Linked DNA regions of Homo sapiens: all the other regions are linked to region 3. The links are contacts of gene promoters, found by promoter capture Hi-C in blood cells and fetal thymus (Javierre and others, 2016). All regions are on one chromosome and are shown on one strand. Each heading gives the region's core, a stretch centred on a gene start or on the middle of the fragment in contact. The rest is flanking DNA. Distances are from core to core; before and after follow the strand shown. Region 1 overlaps RGL1 (ral guanine nucleotide dissociation stimulator like 1). Region 2 overlaps RGL1 (ral guanine nucleotide dissociation stimulator like 1). Region 3 holds the start of APOBEC4 (apolipoprotein B mRNA editing enzyme catalytic polypeptide like 4).

What was found. The method cuts DNA at HindIII sites, captures the fragments that hold promoters and counts their contacts. A CHiCAGO score of 5 or more calls a contact.
Region 1: a contact is called between a fragment that was not itself captured here and the fragment with the promoter of APOBEC4 in region 3, in 13 of 17 cell types (naive CD4 T cells, naive B cells, total CD4 T cells and 10 more). The highest score is 10.9, in naive CD4 T cells.
Region 2: a contact is called between a fragment that was not itself captured here and the fragment with the promoter of APOBEC4 in region 3, in 2 of 17 cell types (naive CD4 T cells and non-activated CD4 T cells). The highest score is 6.6, in naive CD4 T cells.

What each region holds. Positions count from the first base shown.
Region 1 is chr1:183,895,198-183,899,591 of GRCh38, reverse strand. It overlaps RGL1 (ral guanine nucleotide dissociation stimulator like 1), which reads right to left. Exons shown (of 18, transcript NM_001297671.3): 10 at 1,695-1,784. Among named protein-coding and RNA genes, the nearest start is that of RGL1, 92 kb to the right of the region's middle. RefSeq lists an enhancer at 1,311-1,470. The HindIII fragment of the contact is 9,566 bases long and covers 1-4,394 here.
Region 2 is chr1:183,871,464-183,876,003 of GRCh38, reverse strand. All of the region lies in intron 4 of RGL1 (ral guanine nucleotide dissociation stimulator like 1), which reads right to left. Among named protein-coding and RNA genes, the nearest start is that of RGL1, 69 kb to the right of the region's middle. The HindIII fragment of the contact is 1,340 bases long and covers 1,229-2,568 here.
Region 3 is chr1:183,651,402-183,656,300 of GRCh38, reverse strand. APOBEC4 (apolipoprotein B mRNA editing enzyme catalytic polypeptide like 4) reads left to right here and starts at 2,985. Exons shown (of 2, transcript NM_203454.3): 1 at 2,985-3,229. It also overlaps a transcript of RGL1 not described here. The HindIII fragment of the contact is 5,397 bases long and covers 2,193-4,899 here.

The DNA.
Region 1 (4,394 bases), core at 859-3,358, 240 kb before region 3:
CATCAACATGACACCAGATGTCACGCTGAAACCATTCATTCACTCCTTGATGTGATGTGATGAGAAGGGCACTTTACTCTGTGATATTCTTTCTAAAAATCCAGAAGCTCAGTCTAATCACTAGAAAACAGCAGACAACCTCAAACTGTGGAACATTCTACAGAATACCTGGATAGACCCCTTAAGACAACCAAGGTCATAAAAAACAGTCAAGAAAACACTGTCGTAGACCTGAAGAGACAGGGGTGACAGACAACAAAATGCAGTTGGTATGCCGGATTGGGTCCTGGAACAGATAAGAAGATACTAGTGGAAAACTGGTGAAATCCAAACAAAGTCTAGATTTTAGTTAATAGTATTATGCCAGTGTCAGTTTCTTAGTATTGACAAATGTGCTATGGTTTTAGAAGATGTTAACAATGAGGGAAACTGCACTTCTAGCTTTGCAGCTTTTCTGTAAATCTAAACTTATTCCAGAATAAAAAGTTGGAAATGAAGGTGGAGGCACTTCTACCTACAACTGCAGGGATACACTATATTCATTTCACTAAATCTCCTTTAAAATCATCTCTCTTCTTCAGTAAGCCACCAAGGCACTAAACATCCTAAAGGAAAAGTAAAAAGCGGTCCCCATGGATCCCTTATCCTAAATCTCATCAAGCCAATTCTGGAAATTTTGGCAGAACACAAAGCCTCAAACAGGGTAAAGCCAGGCTGCTTGACATGAGGCTGGCTGCTTCCTCAGCCAGAACTGCTTTGTGAGGTTCATACCAAGGAGGGTTTTGTCCTTCAGGAACTCACTGTCAGCTGCAGTGTGTCCTTCCCATTCTGTGTACAAGGTCTCATCCTGTACTAAAATAATCTATTTTTTTGGTAACAGCTATTTTTAGCTTGTCTTTGAACAACCAAAAAAGTTTGTAACACTGTGAATGTTTTATAGGCTTCATGTTGCGGAAGAGTCCTATCATTCAAAAACATTTCTTACTTACGTTGAGCTTTCCAAAGAAAGAGAAAACCCTCTTAAAGCAGAATATTTAGAGTTTGTCAGTCTCTAATCTCCTCCCTCTGGTCTTCCACACTTTATGCTAACAGTCAGAAGTTTAAAATGAAGCTAAAGTTGATAATACCTATCTTTCAGTCTTCAGGAGGGAGGCATGATGCTCCTTTAAATATTGAAAAACTATAAAGATTTGGTTAGCCTTGGGATTAGTAAGGAGAGCTGGGCAATGGCTAGATTAGAACAAATGAAAAGATCTCTGAGTACAAGGACCAGGGCCCTGTGGAGAAGACACTCTTTCTCCTTGGTCACCATGTATCAGAAGCTGACTACAGTAGGAAGCTCAGGAGGCCCTCAGGCCAAGGTGGAGCAGCTTCTAAGTGCAGGAGGGGGCGGAAGAGACTGCAAGAGGGAGGAAGTCGACCTGCTGTAGACTCCCCCTCACCTTCAGAAAACAACTTTGCCAGAAAACAGGATTTGCCACCCAGTGCTTACTTCCTACTAGTTGAATGAGGGTAATCATCTCTCTCCTATAGACCTCCCAGGGCTGCTGAGAACAAATGGGGTAGAGAATGGGAGACCCTTTCTGAAAGCCTGGGTGCCCTGTTGACTGAAGGTGCCAGTGCCATGTGGGAGCCCAGACGCACACGGCCCTTCTCCTCTGTGAGCTGTCAGGGAAGACGAGGGCCAGACATACCATGTCCTTCTGGAGCTGCAGCCGCCTCTGGGTACGCTTCTGGTTTTCTTTCACACTGCTGTCCAGGTTTGCAAATTTTGAGGTTCCTTCCTGAGAAACAGAAATGCACACAGAGGGAATTGATACAGGATGCCACAATGGTAAGAAGTAAAGAGGCATCTAGTTTCTCGCACACAACCCTGCATAACTCTCGCTCGGAACACCATGCAAAATGAAGAGGCCTCCAGCAGGCTCTCACGATGTATATTATGCAAATACTTGGCTGGCTTGTTGCAAGTTGCCTATTTATAACGAGGCTGGTGGACTTGGATTTTCTTGTTCTTCCCCCAACTTTGTTTTTTTTTTTTTTGAGACGAAGTCTCACTCTGCTGGGAAGGCTGGAGTGCAGTGGCGCAATCTCAGCTCACTGCAACCTCTGCCTCCCAGGTTCAAGTGATTCTCCTGCCTCAGCCTCCCGAGTAGCTGGGATTAGAGGAATGCGCCACCACCTGGCTAATTTTTATATTTTATTTTATTTTTTGTTTTTAGTAGAGATGGGGTTTCGCCATGTTGGCCAGGCTGGTCTTGAACTCCTGATCTCAGATCATCCACCTGCCTCAGCTTCCCCAAGTGCTGGGATTACAGGCATGAGCCAGCCACCACACCTGGCCTTCCCCTTACTTTGTAAGAAGATCACCTGATTTGGTTATGAAAGCAATCATCAATACAAGCCAGGCAATTCTCATAAATGAAGACATTTTTACAGATCCCAAATTAAACTCAAAGTAATCAGATATCCTGAAAACAAAGATCGACTTCCTCAGTACATTTTGTGATTTCTCGATCTTGGCCTGAAATGGATGTGCCAGCATTCTGTGAAAGAAAGGGACTACTTCTGTAGCATTTCTTAGCTAAATGAAACTTTTGCACCGGAAGTTTTCTGAGGAAGTCCAATATTGTACTACATGACCAATCCATAAAAGTCGAACTTTCACACATCCCCAGCCCCCAGTCAGTTCTTCTAAATTGCCTCTCAGGTTTGGAACTCTTACAAATCAATCCTTCCTCCTGGTGCCTGAGGACACATGGCTACCCTTTCTCTCCTCCTGTCTATTGTAACAACAAACTCTTCTATATAATGAGTAATCATGAGTTTGCTGACTGAACATTAAGTGCTTTTGCGGTTTTGGGGTCTTGTTAAGTTCTCATTTTCCAGGAACTGCATGAATGGGGGGGTAAATTGCACAATTCAGTAGTATATAACTTCTACACTAGTTTTTCCTTAGTCACTTTTCCTGAGATTTATGTATTACCATAGCACGTGACCTTCCACTACTGTACAACCACAAAAGGGTTTTTTTCAGTGGCTTGGCCTTGCTGATAGTGATAGAGCATCAACATGTTCCATCTCTCAGCCTTAACTCAGGTCCCAGGTACACTACTGGGACAGAACCCACAGTGACTCATTACCTATTTAAGTTCTTCCCATCACAAATGATAATAAAGAGAGCCACTATTTAATGATCTCCCATTCATAGTTTTTCACAGGGATGAATGAAAATAGCCTATACTGGACATGGCGGCATGCGCCTGTAATCCTAGCTACTCAGAAGGCTGAGGCAGGAGGGTCGCTTGAGCCCAGGAGTTCAAGTCCAACTTGAGCAACATAGTGAGACCCCACCTCTAAAAAAAAGAAAGCAGCCTAATATGCGCCTTTCCTGTGCTAGATAGTTGTGAGTCCTCCGAAATTCTTGAGAATTTGCTTAGAGTGAGAAATCAATTATGTCTGACTTGAATAAGAGTGCCCACCTCTTTCCGGTGTGTAGGTCCTTCTGGTCTCCCTCCAGTATGTCAGTTATGGGCAGAGGAATAATGTATCATAAGTTATTGTAGACATGGCTAAAATTCCTAAAGAGAATTTCTGAAAAGTTCAAAGGCTCCTAAGAATCACAGAATAACAGAGGTGAAAGGGATCTCAAAAGAGCACTTAAGACAACCTCCTCATTAGATAGGAGAGAGAAACGCCTGAGATGGGGAGCTACAAGACTTGTTGATTCCATGACTTTATGATTTCATGAGAATGAGATTCCATCCCTGCTAGAGATCTAAAAAGACCGACGAGTCCCTATTATTCCAAATGAGGTGTCAACTGAAAATCCACTTACCTGCCACATCCAGCAGTTTCAGTTTTTCCTTCCTCAGCCCCAAATCTCCTACTCTGCAATGTCGCACAACACCAATCCCTTGAACCTTCTTGAAAGTTTTCATAGGTTTTTGTGACTGTATCACTCATTCTCTCCCCCTGCCTCCTCTGCTGTTCTCATATTCTCTTAGTGATTCTTCTTTTTGTCAAAGTTATCCTCTTGTTTTCTGCTGTACTCATGTCTTTGGAAATACTATCCAATCTCATGATTTTAATCATCACCTATGTTTGGATAAATGCCAAATCTCCCTCTTCCTCCATCAATCTCCTTCTCCCTCTCTCTCTCCTTTTATCTCCCCCTCTGCCCTTCTCTTCCCTCTCCGTCTCTTAGTGCAAATGGCTTGCTTAAGTCTCACCTTTTCTTTATAACCATCTTTAGCAGAGTTCAGCTACCCTCATCCATGCTGTTCTTGGGCTTCAGAGGGCCCTCTTCTACTAGGTCTAGATGGAACTTGTCTACTGGACTCTGGATCCATCTCCATAAATGTTGGTTAACTTAAGCTCAGTAGCTACCAGCA
Region 2 (4,540 bases), core at 649-3,148, 220 kb before region 3:
GGTTCTGCGGTGAAAGAGCTAAACACTTGTAGAGGACTTAAAGATCTGTTAAACTAAAAAATATAAAGAGTTGGGGGAAAGGAGCATGATGAAATCTGCTATACTCATTGATTTTTTTTTTTTTTTTTTTTTGAGACAGAGCTGTCGCCCAGGCTGGAGTGCAGTGGCGCAATCTCGGCTCACTGCAATCTTCGCCTCCCAGGTTCAAGCGATTCTCCTGCCTCAGCCTCCCGAGTAGCTGGGATTACAGGCACGTGCCACCATGCCTGGCTAATTTTTTTTTTCTTTTTAGTAGAGACCAGGTTTCACCATGTTGGCCAGGCTGGTTTCAAACTCCTGACCTCAGGTGATCCACCTGCCTTGGCCTCCCAAAGTGCTAGGATTACAGGCATGAGCCACCGCAGCTGGCCACTCATTGATTTCTCAGCCAACCAGAAATCACACCTAATAACACCTGCTTAGAAGACATTAGACAGATGCACCTTGGCTGAGAGATAAAAGAAAATGGTTCAGAACTTCTAGCCACCCCACGATCTTCAGGCACGCAATGCAGAGAGGGCTGAGGCAAGCATTTAGGCAGCGATTATGCGCAAATCACAGACTTTTTAATGAATGCAGATTTTAGGTAAACGTATTAAATCATATTAACATTCCATAGGCAGTAAAATACTCTATAATTGGTCAAATGTTTAATACAAATTTTTTCAGGTATGAAGTCACCTCTCCCATGATGTGTAACTTCTGAGCCAAGAAATAGGATTACCGTGACAAAAAGAATAACACTATCCATCTAGAGTTCTTTTCTCTCCCCAGCAATCTATTTGAAATAATAATTTTTTGTACTTAATCATCAGCAGAAAATAAGACATGGAACCATTTTTCAAAAGCAGCAAAATGTTTTTCTATTTTAATACATTCTCTGAGAACTGGATCTTGTCTTCGCTGCAGATAATGAAAAGGTAAGAAGATTTACGCAGACGGTGGGCCTTTCAAGCAATGAAGTAACTTCTGCCAAGCTCTGAGGGCAGGATCTAATACACTTTGTCCTTCAAGAACTGAAGCCTAAGTCAACCTTGACCCTGACTCTGGGCCGGACCCTCCACCTTGTTCTCCTAATCATAGAACAGTTTTGCTCTGTTTCAGGGAAGGTTGCCAGATAGAAGCTGCCTCTGAGACCTCCAGCTAGATGATTTTCCTGATGAGAAGGAACAAAGAAAGATACAAAGCTTTCCTCTTTGTTTTTTTCCTGGAAAGGATGAAAATATTATTATCTGGACTTGTCAAGGTTGTCCTGCGTTGCTTTTTTACACTTTACATTGTCACATTTCAGTGCTGTTGGTAAACAGGGATTCAAATACTAGGAGGAGACGTGAAAGAGAGATTGAGAAAAGACCAGGGAAATAATGCCAACAAAGCCAGAGTCAGATTTAAGCACTAAGAAGGCAAGGGCAACGCAGGGACTATGGGGAAGGGAGAGAAGAGAAAAAAAAAAACCTCCACGGCAAGAAGGAGGAAGAAAAAGATTATGAAAGGAAGACATACAGAAAGACAGTAAATGTGAGTGGGAGAGGGCCCGGAGTAGGATGGATAAGCCTGAAGCCAATTACCCAAAGTCAAGGTTATTTACACACCTGTCTTTCATTCCCAAGCTAAGTACTTAAGAGAAATATTTTCATTTTTATCAGAGGAAAAATAGTAAAGGTCATGCAGCACAGAGGTTAAGGCCTCGGTTAAATCCCAGCTCTTTCATTTATTCACTGTGTAGCCTTGGACATGTTCCTTAACCTACGCCCCAGGTTCCTCCTCTGTAAAATAAGAATAATAAAACATAATCATTATGAGGATTTAACAAGTATGTACAGTACTTAACACAGGGACCATTCCTACTAAGTAGTCAATAAATTCTAGCTATTATTAGAAAAGGACATCGCCAGTCACCAAAATTATCTTTCAAGGACCTCAATAACTCATTCCCCACAGTCCAAGAAGGGAGTTTTCATGTTATAAATAGAACTCTATTGAAAAAAATGGCTAAGGCCTTCTATAGTTTTCACCACTAGAACTGAGTTTCCGTTGGTAGTGACAGATGCTACGAGGCACAAGGAACAGGAAGCAGGTTCTCCTTTGATGGGCCTAATTTGGTCTTGTTTCCTCACATTCTTCAACCCATCTCCTTCCCCAGGAAAAAGGTCTAGCTTCCACATTTCTAACAGCTGTGTGCGAACCTTGCTCAGGGTGTTCATTCAATAATAAAGCAACAGCCAGGCAAAACAGCATAGAGCAATGGAAATAATGACAAAAGATCTCAGAATAATAACAATCTAAAACATTAGTCACAACAATGATATTGTAATCTAGTTCTTCATGTACTTCCGCAGTCTTATTATGGTGATATAGGCAAATGCGGAGAAAAATCTTGAGTATCCGAGATCCCAATGCTCTTCTATAAATGGCATGCCTGGGCTTCCCACCCAGGTCTTGGAGTCAGTTGGACGGGAGTTCAAATATCAGACCTGTCACTTAACCACCTGCCTGATCTTAGTCAAAACACATAACTTCTCTGAAGCTTCACTTTATATCCTATAAAGTGAGGACAATATCTCAGCATATTTGTGATGGTTGAAGAAGACACAAATATAAAGTACTTAGCAGAATGCCTTGTAAGCATACCACAAATTGTAGCCAATGGTGGTGGCAAGGGCAGTGTCATCATTTTCTTTGTTTACAATGCTGTGCAGGGAATCAAACAATACAGTCTAATTGTGATGTCTGTTTTCCTTTCTAAAAGAGACATTCTTTAATGTAGAAAACCCTAGGAGATACTCGTATGATTGATCTGTCTTCTTTTTGAGCCATTGATTATCAATGTTGTTTTATTCTTCCTCAACTATTAGAACATCAGTTTCTGCTCAGGGCTTTCTACCCATGTCCCTAAAATGCAGACTTGACTTAGAATGCTAATGACTTGTAAAACTATGGTTTTTATTCTTCTTTGTCCTGTAGGGATATTTTAAAGACAATACCAGACTCTTCGATATGGCATATCACTTCTTCATTTCTTTTGTTTCACTTTAAAAAAAATTCCTTTCACATTATAACTTTTAATTCTTCTAAATTGGAGTTTTAAATCTTGTTTTTGCTGTTCTTCACCCCTCCTCCTTTTCCCCATTTTTGTTATAATCACTCCAATTAATTTCAATTGCCTTCTTAGGGCATCTGAATTTGCAGGAATGAATATTGATTGCAAACTCTCTGGGAAGATTTTTTAACTTTCCACTGTGAAGTTTCTGAGGCAGTAATGTAACACAGCCAACTTCCTTTAACTCCTTTCCTTTCTCTTTAAAGTGTATCCGATGTCTTGGATTACTACTATTTACATGATCCTTTACCAGTGACTGAAATCTGGTGTCACTGTTTACAACTTCTGGGAAAAGATTACAAGAACAATATACGTATCTTCTGAATATGTGGAAATGAAAGCAGAACGATTTCAACAATTTGAAGTAGTACTATGGTAGAGAGTTTGAGAAAACAAAACTTGGCACTCCAGAAGGAAACTGATGAGATTCAATTAAAGAAAAGAAAACAGAAACAATTTCAACCTTATAATAGTCATTAAAGGAAAGAAATAAAGCATCATTTCTTGAGGAGTTTTAAATCTCTTTAAATAAAGTTATATATAGAGAGAGGGAGATATGGCCATCTCATATAAAATTCAGAGAATGAAGATTCGTGTTGTAAAAGCTCTATATGGTTAATATCCCTTCTTTACATTCTCTTCATTTCTGAATTCAATGACTATAATAAATCTGCCCTAGAGACAATTCACTTTTTCCATCTGGTTCAGATTTTATTATTTAAAAAGATAGCATTTTATCGTGTAAAAATGTCAGCAGGAAAAGGGCACGGGTAGAATGAATATAGGCAGAAATGTTTTCTTCTGTCATAGAAAGTGAGTTTCCTAATTGATAAATAGTGGCCAATTTAGGAATCCTAGAAATAAATGTGGCACACCTTATATAATCAGTCTAGCCCTACCATCAGAAATCACCGTGAGGCAAAGATTCCAACATCCAGAAGCCTTGGAAGTTGAATCCTTTGCAACTGAACACATTCTTGTCTTAGCCAGATAACTTTAGAGGGTCCTGACATTGTGCAAAGCCTGAACTCTGGACTGGAATTACAAGTACTCCGCATGTGGGAGTCCCTGCACAATCTGATACTTTTTTAAATGCATGAAGAACACTAGTCGGTTGTGGTCCAAGACATCAGAAACCAATTTTTCATCTTGAATGCTTCATCTGTATTTCCACATTTTCCTTCTTTAAAGTTCTTTTACCCTCTGAAAGGTTTAAATCCATATTTGGAAATACAGGAAAGATTTTACTTGGTACTTGGGAGCCTGTATAAAATGTAAGGGTTGCTCTTTGCTTTACAGCTAAAACGGGAAAACAAACAATATTTGGGCATTTTTCTGTTCATGGTTAAATCCAATAGTGAGTCCCTGTCCCCATCCCCTCCTCCACCCAGGTCTGCAAAA
Region 3 (4,899 bases), core at 1,736-4,235:
TTAGGCATTGAGGTCACTCTGTTACCATCATAAATGTACTTATTTGGTCTCAGATCCCACGGGGAAAGAGCAGAACAGTTGGTTTTTAAGGTGGGAACATGGATTTCAGGTTACTTTTTTGTAAGAGTTAGAGAGCCAAGGGGACTTCCTTGTGCCGGAATCTCCTGTTTTCATGAGAAAAAAAAAAGAAAAGAAAAGAAAAAAAACTTGGTCTGCTTTGGGATCTATCTGTTTCCTTAAAATTTTAGTTTATGTCACATTTAGCATGAGTGACTCCATTTTGGTTTGGTCTGGTCGGCTGGGGCCTAGTGTACAAGCTTAGCCCAAAACAATGGCCTCCCATCACTGTTTAACATATGGTTTGGAAATGTCAATTGGTCCTTTCCCACAGAGAGTTGGAAGCCTTCTTTAGAGCATCTAAACAGTCTCTGGAAGTAAAGATGCTGCCTTTACCCTATACTTTTCCTCAGCTTAAGTTTTAGGAGTCATTTTTAATTCTAAACATTTGCTGCTGTTTCCCCTAGGATAATGAGGAAAATCAACATGGAGGAATTCTAAGAGAAAGTCTGTGGTGTTAGCAAATTAAGGGTGGCCCTACAGAAAGCTCTCTGCTGTTAAGACTGTGCTGCCACCTTGTGGCCATCTTGTTTATAACCCCCCGAGCTCGAAGATCCACCCTCTGCTTTTTCGTCTCCTTTTGGTCTCAACTCCAGTGCTTTTCTTATCTCATCTTTCCCATCTAACTCCTTAGTGAGCTCCATGAAATCTACTTAATCTTCTGATCTTTACTTGAAGCTTGCTTTCTAAATTCAGTTCCTTTTATCACGTAGTTTGTTACTGCTACATGAATTTGAGCATTGTTGTTCAGTGTCAACCAAACTGCTACTAAAGTGATGAATTATATAATTACTTGGGTACAGTAGGTTCAAATAAAACTTTAACATTTTAGCAATAACTTATAAATATTTTACTTCCTGCCACCCAAAGAGAAAGTTGCCTTATAAGCAGTAACTAGCAACACACAAGCCATCTTGGATATACCCCAAACTGGGTTGTCAGAACATAGATTAATAATTTTTGGAGTGCCAAACTGAGTAAATGTCTCTTAAAAATTTAGATCATTGCAGGATAGTTTAGTCTTTGTAAATCTTCTTCATTATAATCTCATAATATCTCTACATAAATAATATACATCATAACTCATCTGAATGAAGATGAAACATGGCAGATTAACAAAGGAAGACAGAAAAGAGAAGAAAGGAGTCTGTTGGGGAAGCTAGACATTTCTTCCAAGCATCTCCTTTCCAATACATGTCAATTTCACTGTGAACAGGAACCATGGTAAAGGCCTTTCATTTCCTCCTGATGAAGTTTAGTCTTAAAAGTCATTCTGTGCAACCTAAATGGAATGTTGCCAACTTAACATTCCTTGGAGTCTTCCTACATCTAACAGACAACTACCTTTAAAGAATAATGACTAATTGGGGTTGCCTATCCCTAAAATCACCCTAAAATGCAATTGATAAATGTGCTAGTGGACAAAGGCTCATTTTTCCTGTTTCTTTAGGCTTAACCTTCCATAGGTATATCATTTGCTGAGCATCTAATCCACCATGGAAGGTGCACAGTGCACATGGGATGCTGGTGCAGATTTGGGGACTATATTTTTTGTCTTTTCCTCCCCTCACTGGAACCTGTCAGACAGCTAATACTTTCTTACAGAACTGAGCAGGCCCTCAGAACTTGATTCTTCAGCTAGCGGGAGAAAAACCCCAACATGTTCTCTTCAACAGTCAGCTATTATCCTTTCACCCAGCTTTTGATAAGTAATATTTTTAAAGTAATGTTTGCAATAGATTGTCATTTATTAGGATTAAATAAAAGATGAGCTATGAGGATTGACTTTCAGTTCCATATTTACAAGTTCATTCAGTTAGAAGATGCAAGCAATGAGAAAAAAGGGATGACCCATGGCAAACTGTGGGGAAGGGACAGGATGCAGCAGTGACCATGTGCCAGAGCAAGCACCAAGGAAGATGAAACTGAAAATAACCAGCTGAGGAGTTCATGAATACACCTGAGGCCCTTAGGAGACAAAAACATCTCGTCTAGTAGGAGCACTCTGGATGAGAAAGGATGTGTGCTGTGGTGCAGACTGGAAGTCTGACAGTGGAAACAGGCGTGGCGAAGCTTCGAGAAGACAGAAGGTGCCCTCTGGGTGCTCAGTATCCCTGAGTTATTTTTAGAGTATGTCTGCTTACAGCCAATAGTTATTACTGGAATGTACACAATAGCAATCCCCACTCACTCCTTCAGGTGGCCTGGGAAAGGGGAATGAGGGAATAATCCAGAGTGATTGACAGTGAATTGTGACTATCAATGTGCCTTGTGTCTAGGAGATGATGTGGGGGTCAAGGGAGACTAAGGAAAAGAATGGAGAAGGACAAGTGGCTCTTCCGTTAGCCACAGAGAAGGGGCTACAACCGATCCTGGAACAAATCTTGTCTTAAACTGGAGGGAACCACATACATACCAATAGCAAGAGTCTTCCAGGCAATTTCTAAGAGGAGGGAAACCGCTAACACATAGCCTAGGTTTAGACAGAATCAAAAACACCCCCTTCAGGGACTATGGGCCTCTTGGAGGAAGTCAACTCTCTGCTCCCTCTCACAGAGGGCAAGCCTCCCAAGGAGAAGCCCTGGCACCCACGCAGGCAACAGAACCGCCAGGCCTGGCACCTACTCTAGACCAGGAGAAAGGTGCTGAGGAGCAGGCCCTCAGAACTTGATTCTTCAGCTAGCAGGAGAAAAACTGCAACATGTTCTCTTCAACAGTCAGCTATTATCCTTTTACCCAGACTGGGATATGCAGTCCTGTATATTTTCATCTTTGGAACAGGTGGCTTGATATGCAAATAAAGTAATAAGTGTCAGAGCTGTATCCTAGCAGTAGCTACTTTGCAAACGTTACCATGGCACCCAATCAACAGTGTTCTTAGAGGTAGCCACACCTCAGCAAGGGCTTTCTAACTTGGAACAGCAAAGTTCAAATGAACGAATAGACACAAACTGTGAAAGAGTCCTGAACCCATTACAAGGTGAATCTTTACAGCACAATTGCCTTCTGAAGCTACTTGAAACAGGGCATGGGACTTAAAGGAGAAAAAAAAGGAAATGGACCATCTCTTCTAACACCTGGAATGTGATCCAAGCCTGGAGACAAATTGATGGTAATTATAACTGCTAACATTTGTTTTTAGCTGCTAACAGATTGTGCACAGATTGTGAAGGGCAAACTCCATTCTCCAATTACTCCAGTGCAAACTGTGCTTTAACAGTACTCACTAAATCCTAGTTGAGTGAAATGAGAGCAGATTGTCCTTATGGTGTGGTTCATTTATGTTAAACTATGGAAAGCTGTCCTCCCACGGTCCCAGTCCAGGGGCCACTCACAGCCAGATGCAGAGAGCCCTCCAGCACGCTGGGCTCTACACATCTCTGTTCTTACTGCCAGCAAATCTGCTCTACAGAGTATAACATGTATTTCCCAAGCACAGACAAAGCAAAAGGAAAAGGGCTAGGCAGGAAGTAGGGACACCAGCTGCTGGGGAAACAAGTCTTAAGCAACCTGGCTTGTGAGCCAATCAAGGTTGCTAAGGTAGGTCCTGGGCCTAAACAGGGTACATTTCCACCTGGTTGGGGAGAATAAAATGACAGATACCAAAAGTTAACAAGATAATCTGTGGTCGATAACAAATTGATACAATAAACCATGAATTCTCTAAGAGTTCAAAGAGGGCAACAGTTCTTTCCTGCTTCCTCTTCAGATGAGGGTGATCAAAGAACAAGCCCAGAAAGACTCTGAAAAAGTGAAAACTTCACCAATAGGAAACTATAGTTGGTTGACACTGAAAAGTTGTCAGCAAGAATGAGACTACAGAGCTCCCTCCACTATGTGTTAAAGCCACAGTCCTCTCCATCTCCTTAAAGACAGTAATGATGTATCATTTCTGGCTAAAACAGCCACAGAAGATGGGGGTGCAAAGGAAGGCGTGCTTAGAAAAGCAATAGGGAGTTTCCATTTTGCTACCTTTATCTAAAAACACACAAAGACTTTTGTTTCCCAAAAGGGTAATTATGGGACCATTATATATAGTTAACTCCACATACACATCACCTTAAGAAATAGTAATAAAGACAGAAAAGTGCCTTTTGGTTCTGTTTCCATAACATTTAGCCAAATCAATCTGTAAATTGTCTATGGGTGAGTTGAAATTGTAATCTGAGCAGTAACCTGGATGTCCGGTGTACCACCCATAAGTCGACCACATCAAGGGCACAATATTAAAAAGCATGAAAGTTTGGGCTTGGTTTTGGCAAGTTCTGATGGAGAGATCCATCCAGCCTGATGAAGGCTAAGCAAGGAGGAGGTCCAGAGAGGAAACAATGCTCGGGAGTAAGCAGGAAATGGCGTCAGGTTCCAAGAGATCGTCCACTGCCAAGGGTTAAATCCAGCTCTCTAGAAGGAAAGCTATGACAAGGTCTAGGAAGCCTCAAGGCAGGAATTCAGTTACATCAGGAAAATATAGTACTAAGGAAAAAACAAAGCTAATGTCCAATCCTATGGATTAAGATGACACAGCAGAGGCTAGGAGAAATCTAGAATCTGGTGGGTATGTGGTGCCAGAGTTACTGCAGGATATTAGCCACTAAGATAATGGTGACATGAATAAAGCTACATTCCACCTACAGCTGGATTGAGGCTTTTAACATATTTTCTGCCCAGGATAGGATTAGCATAGGAACTCTGCAGGTTTCAGGCTAGAGATCAAGCTGTATCAAATACAGCAATGAATGAGCTGATGTGGGCTGAGGAAGACAGAAGGTGAACATAGCACTT